Linked DNA regions of Homo sapiens: region 1 is linked to region 2. The links are contacts of gene promoters, found by promoter capture Hi-C in human tissues and cell types (Jung and others, 2019). All regions are on one chromosome and are shown on one strand. The core of a region is centred on a gene start or on the middle of the fragment in contact, and the rest is flanking DNA. Distances in the headings are between cores, read along the strand shown.

Region 1 (4,392 bases), core at 1,810-4,309, 1.0 Mb before region 2:
AGAGGAGCTGCTCTCTTCCTTCAGCCTGGGTCTCAGAGTGAGAAGGTACACAAGGTCTACTTTACATGACCTTGGAGCAGAGACACTGCTCTCCACCTGCAGCCACTGACGTGCAATGTGAGCAAGAAATCGGGATCGGCTATTAAGTCACTGCCGGGGTTCGTTACACTGAATTATCAAAGCAGAGACTGATCAGTACAGCCAGCTGAAGAGAGAATTTGTGAAATTAAAGATAAAGCTGAAGAAAGCCCAGGGCACAATACAGAGGGAGAAAAATTTAATGGGAAATATATGAAGTTAAGGAGCACAAAAACAGAATTTCTAGTAACACTTATAATAAATCTAAGAGTGTAGACTAGAGAAAATAGGGGGTGTATTCATTTTCTGTATCCATGAAACAACTTAGGACAAGTTGTTTCATGGCTACAGAATTCTAGAGCAGGACTTAGTGGCTGCTCTAGAGTCCCGGTCTCATGGCTCTCACAAAATGGCTTGCTTCTGCAAAGCCAGTGGGAGAGCTGCTTTCCAGTGAGCTTTGACAGAGTCTTATGCGATGTAATGTAATCATGGGAGTCACGCCATCCCATGTCTTCACACCCATCATCTTCACAAGTCACACTCACACTCAAGGAGACCCTTCCTTTACAGGGTGTAGATACCAGCAGGTAGGAATCCTGGGCCACACCTTGGCATTTTACCTACCACGGGGAAAAAGCAATAATAGAAAATGGACTATGCCTGGCCACGCGCGGTGGCTCACGCCCGTAATCCCACCACTTTGAGAGGCCGAGGCGGGCGGATCACAAGGTCAGGAGATTGAGACCATCCTGGCTAACACTGTAAAACCCGTGTCTACTAAAAATACAAAAAAAAATAAATAAATAAATAAATAAAAATTAGCCAGGCGTGGTGGCAGGCACCTGTAGTCCCAGCTACCGGGAGGCTGAGGTAGGAGAATGGCATGAACCCGGGAGGCGGAGCTTGCAGTAAGCCAAGATCGTGCCACTGCACTCCAGCCTGGGTGACAGAGCGAGACTCCGTCTCAAACAAAAAAATAAAAAAGAAAGAGAAAGAAAATGGACTATGCCTGAGGCATATTCTAGCACTCATGCTCTTACGACTATACTAAAGGATAGCAGGCATTCAGCAGCACACCAGGGCAACACGGCATTGCCCTTAGAATTCTACAGGCACAGGAAGGTTTTACACTGGAACCACAGAAGGCTGAGTCATGCCTTCGTGCCCAGTCGTCATCTTTCTTCCATCTTTCCAGGCCAATCTAATAGCCTACCTCTGGGTCCAAAGTTCCACTTCTATGAAATAAATTGCATGTGTTCCCCACCATTGTAAACATTTTATGTGCAACTCACACGTGTTTTTCAAGTTGTCTTTTCAACTTTTAGGAACACATTAATAGAAATGTTATTTAGATTGTCCCTTTTCACTCCTTTGCCATTAAAAGACTTCGATTGAGTAATAATGTTGCAAATTCTGGGAAGATAATCTAAAAGCTAATTTAAAGCCCTTTTAAAATTCCTAAAAGCTGAAAAGAGAAAGCCATTAGCATTCTTGTTTATTCTACATTTTATTGGCTAATGGGCATCATCTTTATTGTTTTACAGGAACACACACATTTGTTTTGTTTTGTTTTAATTGATCAGTAGCAGAATACAAATGGTGAACAATAAATCTTAGCTGTTTATTGCTTCTGTGATTCTCTGGAACAGAAGGAGAAGAATGTCTTATGTGCTTATTACACCCAGGCAATATCTCAGATCATTTCCCCAGCTGTAGAACAGATTGTAAACCTCATTTTAAAATTACCTAATGTAGGCCAGGCACAGTGGCTCACACCTGTAATCCCAGCACATTGGGAGGCCGAGGCAGGCAGATCCTTTGAGCCTGGGAGTTCAAGACCAGCCTGGGCAACATAGGGAGACCTCATCTCTACTAAAAATTTAAAAATTAGCTGGGCATGGTTGTGTGCATCTGTAGCTCCAGCTACTTGGGAGGCTGAAGTGGGAGGATTGCTTGAGCCTGGAAGACAGAGGTTGCAGTGAGCCAAGATCATGCCACTGCACTCCAGCCGGGGTGACAGAGTGAGACCCTGTCTCACAAATAAATAATTTATTAAATAATTTTTAAAAATAAAATGACCTAATGTAGGCCAGGCATGGTGGCTCATGCTCATAATCCCAGCATTAAAGGCATGAGGATTGCTTAACCCTAGGAGTTCAAGACCAGTCTAGGCAACATAGGGAGACCCCTATCTCTACAAAAAATTAAAAAATTAGCCAGGCATGGTGGCACATGCCTGTAGTCCCAGCTACACAGGAGGCTGAGACAGGAAGATCGCTTGAGCCCAGGAATTCAAGGCTGCAGTGAACCATGATAGCACCACTTCAGTCCATCCTGGGCAACAGAGCCCCATCTCAAAAAATAAATAAATAAATAAATAAGTAAATAGGCCAGGCACGGTGGCTCATGCCTGTAATCCCAGCACTTTGGGAGGGGCCAAGGCGGGCGGATCACGAGGTCAGGAGTTCCAGACCAGCCTGGCCAATATGGTGAAACTCCATCTCTACTGAAAATACAAAAATTGGCCAGGTATGGTGGCACGTGCCTGTAGTCCCAACTACTTGGGAGGCTGAGGCAGATGAATCGCTTAAACCCGTGAGGTGGAGGCTGCAGTAAGCCAAGATCGTGCCATTGCACTCCAGCCTGGGCAACAAGAGTGAAACTCCATCTCAAAAAAAAAAAAAAAAAAAAGTAAATAAATAAAATTACCTAATATATACGTAAACTGATTTAAATGCTCCTAGCATCATTTTAAGAAATAAAAAGTTATTGTGACATTTCTGTGAATACGTTTAATTCATAAAATAGCCATCTCTGCCCTTCTCTTCTATCCTTTTGCTAATCATATATCACTGAAAATCTATAGATGGTTTTACATGACTATTATACCGAAGGGGTCTGTTTTCTCCACTGTCTCTTTGTGATGATTAATATTATGTGTCAACTTGACTATGGGATACCCAGATAGTTGGTCAAACATCATTTCTGGATATATCTGTGAGGGTGTTTGTGCAAGAGATTATCATCTGAGGCCGGGTGCGATGGCTCACGCCTGTAATCCCAGCACTTTGGGAGGCCATGGTGGGCGGATCATTTGAGGTCAGGAGTTTGAAAGCAGCCTGGCCAACATGGTGAAACTCCATCTTTACTAAAAATACAAAAATTAGCTAGGTGTGGTGACAGGTGCCTAATCCCAGCTACTTGGGAGGCTAAGGCAGAAGAATCGCTTGAACCCAGGAGGCAGAGGTTGCAGTGAGCCGAGATCATGCCACTGCACTCCAGCCTGGGTGATGGAGCAAGACTCTGTCAAAAAAAAAAAAAAAAAGAGAGAGAGAGAGATTAACATCTGAAGTTTGAGTAAATCTGAGTAAAGAAGATCCGGGCAGGGTGCAGTGGCTCACGTCTGTAATCCCAACCCTTTGGGAAGCTGAGGTGGGCAGATTCCCTGAGCCCAGGAGTTAAAGGCTGAAGTAGTCCACCCACCTGGGCCTCCCGAAGTGCTGGGATTACAGGCGTGAGCCACTGCAGCCAGCTTGCCATGACTTTTCTAATTATTCTTAAATGATGAAAACACTTCAAGTCACCCCAAGTCCAGAAAATCAGTCACAGTTTTGTAATCGATGTGTCCAATCTAATATAGCACTCCAACTCTTCCAACTTGATGTGAAGTTAAACCTCTCCTCCTCCTTCAGCTGTGGCCTGCTGAATGAACGAACGCCAGCCACTTGTACTGGGGAAGGTAGACATGGGAAGATTGTATTCTCCTTAGCTAGATTGCTAATTTAGGCAACCCCAGTTTCTGATACTAATCCCTCATTCTGGGGAAGCGGTAGGGAGAGGAAGAGGCAGAAGGAAAGTTCTTCCTTGATTAAGACAATTGCAATGACCTAAGGCTGGTGATCTACAGGCTTGGTGGGCATTTAAAGCTTACTTCGGGCTGGGCGCGGTGGCTCACGCCTGTAATCCCAGCACTTTGGGAGGCCGAGGCGGGTGGATCACAAGGTCAGGAGTTCAAGACCAGCCTGGCCAAGATGGTGAAACCCTGTCTCTACTAAAAATACAAAAAAATTAGCCGGGCGTGGTGGTGGGCGCCTGTAATCCCAGCCACTCAGGAGGCTGAGGCAGAGAATTGCTTGAACCCGGCAGGCGGAGGTTGCAGTGAGCAGAGATTGTGCCACTACACTCCAGCCTGGGCGACAAAGCGAGACTCATCTCAAAAAATAAATAAATAAATAAATAAATAAAGCTTACTTCTTCTCTTGAGCCCAGGTGGGATGGTAGTGGTGGAGATGGGAAGTTGGGAAGTAGAGACGC
Region 2 (5,106 bases), core at 2,413-4,912:
GAGTCAAGTCGAACAGTAGTAATGGTGATGGGACACAATCGTCTTGTACACAAGTCATACCTGGTATTTTTGTTTTGTTTTGCTAATCATAAGCTCAAAATTTGTCTCGTTTGGAGGCTGCATACTTGGTCAGATAACTTGACTCATCTAAAAATATTTATAGTATCAGCATTAAAAATGCACAAATATATATAAAATTGTATAACTAGGACCATTCTGTGACATCATGATCTTATCTGTATATAACAAAGAGGCACGTTAACAAATGATAGTCATACTGAAACTTAAGAAAGCCTGATTAATCAACTTACCCGAAAGGTCTTTGTATAAGGGCTGGATGAAGTTGTTGAACACCAAAGGCAAAACCTAACAACAAAATATACCACATTCTTTATTTGTGCATGGTTAGGCATTTATTATTCCTACATGTAAAATGCAATCACAACTTTCACTTATAAAAGATAAACATTCTTTCGCCACTTTAAAGAAACTATATGTATGTATATTTTTTAAAGTCAGTTTTATAAATGCTATCATTGATTCAAAATAAAGGTTTTAACAGAGAAAAGGTGAAAACTTTAAAAAAATCTGCAAATTTTAGTTGACAGACACAGAATCAGACCTTGGGAAAATGTTCATGAAATAAAATTAAGTACAGCAGGATTTGACAGTGAAGTTACATCTCAAATATTCTCACAGTTTTGAACCAGAATCTATGAAAAGTCTTTGTAATTTGGAACGTTCTGGGATGCTTCAGACAATGCTTTGGAAGATTATGGGTTTTACACTTTCCAGTATTAAAAATTCACAAAAAAAAATGTTTTTTTTCTGGATACTACATACCCACAATGTATTAGACAAATTTTTTTAACGCCCATGAATATTTGCACAAACACTCATTTTCTTGACAACCTAGTTTCCTTTTAAACCCGTTTGGATGGAAGTGTCAACCTCTTCCCAAAATTTCAGATGGAAAGGCTTAGGAGTGAAGAGTATATGATTTAATCAAACTTTACAAGTAAAGTTGCCTGACCAAAGAAAATATTATATTTGCTTAAAAATCAACTCTCAACTATTTGTGCTAATGCAAAGGGCAGTGTTGTAAATAATCCAAGAGGTATTGTTTTCCCATAGACAAAAAACTGCTCCCTTTTGGCAACTAATAGCTACATGACTTAAGTAAAATATTTCTCATCTCTAAGCATCAGTTTCTTTGTCTGTAGCATAGGGTTCTTGAGTAGGTGCAATTTCTGTTTTCTTTGATTGCTAATACTCTGTGATTTTATGTTGAAGGTTTACCATTTTGGGCCAGGCGCGGTGGCTCACGCCTGTAATCCCAGCACTTTAGGAGGCCAAGGCGGGTGGATCACCTGAGGTCAGGAGTTCAAGACCAGCCTGACCAACACAGTGAAACCCCGTCTCTACTAAAAATACAAAATTAGCTGGGTGTGGTGACACATTCCTGTAATCCCAGCTACTTGGGAGGCTGAGGCAGGACAATCACTTGAACCCAGGAGGCGGAGGTTGCAGTGAGCCTAGATCGCGTCATTGCACTCCAGCCTGGGCAACAAGAACGAAACTCCATCTCAAAAAAAAACAAAACCTTTACCATTTGGACATCGCCCCTACCCCTTAATGCTTCCCTTGGGTCTGTGTTCAAGTCAGACTGCCTGCTCTGAGCACAGTGCAACTGGTGCTAAAAGGAGAGACACCACTAAGTAGGGAAGTATATTAGCTGAAGTCGACAAATTTGGCCTATATAATCCACATGTGAATTATCTACAGGTGGCTAAAAATTGGAAAATTGAGAGCAGACTACAAATGTATGCCATATAGGAAACAGGTGAGACATGACTAACTCTTCTTCCTGCACGACCCCCAAGATCCATTTTTGCACACAGGTACATTTCAAGCCTTGAGAGGAGTATTTACAACTCTCATTTATGTTTAATGCCTTGGTAGAATAACAAGCCATGGTTCAAGTTTACTAAACACATCTACAGAAAGAGACAATGTCTTCTAAATTAGAGAATCATCCCACCCATAAATGGGGGGTTCTTGGAGAGGGGGGTAGGGGAGACAGACATTTCTCACCTGGTTGCATGATCCTTGGTTTTGCTCCTAAGTATGCCAGGTTCACGTTGGCCTTTCTGCCATCAATGATGGGATTGGGATCCTTGCAGGCCCTTTCGGCAGCAGCCCGGTCAGCCATGGTGACCTTAGCAACAGACACACACAGACATACATACATAACCTCTAAATTAACCCATGAAGGAAATCAAGAATCACAATGGAGAAGTCATTCATGATAAAACTGAGATCAAACTTTTTTTCTATTCTTTGCTTCTTTTGGCTGGACCCTCCTCCTTGATCTCCCATTTTTAACAGGCGGGCGGGGGCGTGGGGGGGGGGGGCGGGTAGACGAAGGAAAAAAGAAAGAAACCCTCTAACCCTGCCTCCCCCCACCCCACCGCCGAAATCTTAAGGGTGTTAGTAGGGCCTAGCCGAGATTTGGAAGCCTAAATTCTTGGAACTCTAGATCCTCCTTCCCCCGAATCCCCCGCCCCCCAGGTCCCTACTCAGCCTCAGAGGCACCGTTTGCTTTAAAGAAAGTCCAGCCTTACATCCGCCCAACGCTCCCAACCTCGAAAACACTCCCCAACGACAATAGCTATTGTCCTACTCTGGGGCTCCCTGCTCTTCGGCAGCTGAATTTGCACGCTTAAATCTCTAGGAAGGAAGCTTAATATGCTCTGTTTCAGTTCGGCAAAGAGCCCTAGGATCATGATTTAAAAGAACCTACCTTTGCAGTTAAAAGGCGGGGGGATGACACAAGGGCAACAGCCCCAGACCTCGTGGGGTGTCCCCTCCCTGCCCCAGCCAAAACACCAGAACACACGCATTTTTACAAAGCAACAGCGCGCTTAACAACCGGCATCCAGCCCGGGAATGCAATTGTTCAGGGTTGCGGCCCCTCCCTCGCAACCCTCCGCACCCCAAATCCCGCCGTCATTACAGGTCTCTCCTTTCACCCCTGCTCTGCCCTGCCCGGCCCCCGACCTCGCACAGCGCTGGGTCTTCTCCGAACCCCGCGAGGCTGGCGCCGACCCTCTCCCCTAGCAAAGTTTCAGTTCACCCCGGAGCGAAGGGGCAGCGCCGCTCTACCCGCGGGGCTCCTCACGGGTCACGCCGAGCCCCTCACTCCAAGCTCCCGATCCCCGGGGTCAGCCGCCACTCCGTCCCTCCCCGTCACCCCCAGTCCGTGCAACTTACAAATCCATAGCCCCGGGACTTGCCCGTCTGCCGGTCGGTGATGACCACCGCCTCCTCGATCTCGCCGAAGACCTCGAAGTACTTGCGCAGGCTGGCGTCGGTGGTGTGGTAGGGCAGCCCCCCGACGAAGATCTTGGTGTACGTCGTGTCCTTCTGGGTCGTGTGCATCTTCGCACCCGCCCCGCGGCTCGGGCTCCGGCTGCGGCTGCGGCTCGGGCAGCGGCTGCGCCTCCTCCTCCGGCTCCGCGTCTCCCGCACCCTTTCGCGGCCGCCGGGGGCCAAGGGCGAGCCCGGGGGCGAGGGCGGCGGCGCGGCGGGGGCGAGCGGCCGGGGGCGGCCGAGAGCGCCGGGCGCGCGGCTTCCGAAGTCGCCAGCGGCCCTGGAGACTTGACTTCGCTCTCTCCTCCCGCCCCCCCTGCCGGTCACCGTACAAATTCTCCGGATCGTCTGGATTAGAATCGGGTTCTATAGAATGTGCAAGCGGTTTCCACTCACCCGGCGGGGAGGCCAAAAATGAAAAGAGAGGGTAGTTCTCAAGCGAAGAAGCGGGTGCTTTAGAGGTAGATTTTTCTTCCTTAGGAATCAGGTGCCTTGGGTGGGGTGTGGGGAGGGTCCGCGGGAAGAGCGTCCGAGCGCCGAAGCGGGCGGGGGGCGCGGCGGCGGGGCCAGGGGCGAGGAACTCCGCGCAGCTTCGGCTCTGGTCTGTCCCTCCCGCCGTGGGATCTGGAAGACGAGTGCCGAGGACAGCTCTCCACCTCTCTGCTCCCTTCCCCCGCGGGCCGGGGGTCGACGCCCGGCTGGGGAGGGGGGCGGGCCGGACGCCTGCGATTGGCCGCGGCAGCACCTGGGGCGCCGGGCGCCGCCGCCCCCCAGCTGTTGGGAACAGCTGCTTCTCTCCCCGCGCGGCGCGGCGCTGGGGCTCGGGGCTCCCGCTCTGTAGCCGGCGATGGGGTAGGGCTGGAGACGCCTGTAGGCGGCCTGGCTCTCGGCGTCGCCTGCTCTAACCAGTCAAAGTCTTAGGGACCCGGCGCAGCACCAGCCGGGACCCAGGGTGCGGGGACTGTGCCCAAGGAGGAAGCTGCGTTGCTTTCCAGAGGGGACGACGCGAGCTTTTTGGGTTAGGCCTCGGTGACAGGGCCGGCGACCTGGACTGGCGAACTGGGGTCCCCAGAGGCCTGGGGCGATTCGCTGAGAGGCCAATCCCCTCCCGGGCGCGGGGGGTCAAGGAGCTCGGCCGAACGAAACCCAAGCTGGACACCCTGGGGTCTGAAGAGTGAGAAGGAGGGCCCCAACTTTCTTTGGCCCCAAAAAGCCAGTGCGGGGAAGTATCAGAGAGGTAGAGCCAGAAGGAAAAGAAAGATCTAGCGCTTGGGTGTAGTTGGGAAAACCATTAGCTTTAATTGCTACCGCCCAGCCAAACCAAGTAACCGGAGATACCTATGTCCATCAGGCACCGCCTTCTATTTCAGAGGACCATAAGTTAGTATTTTAGCCCCCACAGTCACCAAATTTGTCTTTCCTCCCTAACTTAGTTATTCAGGAAGATTGGTACAGATGTCTTAGCATAAGTCGTTCTTTTTTTTTTTTTTTCCCTAAACAAAGAATTAATCTATTTCTTTCTCTTTGAATTACAAGAATGTTTAGTGGCTTGACCTCATCTGTTTTTATCTGGATGTAAATGTAAAAGGTATAATTTTTGAAATCAACTTATTGCATAACCAGTGGTTTCTACCAGCAGACCTGAAAGCATTTGTAGAACATAGGGCACCCCATATATATTTATTACTTTACATCAGCTTTTTGCAACTTCTTTTAATTGAGAATTCATTCAAT

Evidence for each region. Contacts are between HindIII fragments. The study calls those that stand out against the background at their distance.
Region 1: a contact is called between a fragment that was not itself captured here and the fragment with the promoter of RBM24 in region 2, in 1 of the 25 tissues and cell types used here (stomach).

Annotation. Positions count from the first base shown.
Region 1 is chr6:18,290,561-18,294,952 of GRCh38, reverse strand. No RefSeq gene overlaps it. Among named protein-coding and RNA genes, the nearest start is that of DEK, 28 kb to the right of the region's middle. The HindIII fragment of the contact is 3,481 bases long and covers 1,319-4,392 here.
Region 2 is chr6:17,279,917-17,285,022 of GRCh38, reverse strand. It overlaps RBM24 (RNA binding motif protein 24), which reads right to left and starts at 3,662. Exons shown (of 4, transcript NM_001143942.2): 1 at 3,274-3,662; 2 at 2,095-2,218; 3 at 312-366. The coding sequence starts at 3,441. The HindIII fragment of the contact is 10,579 bases long and covers 1-5,106 here.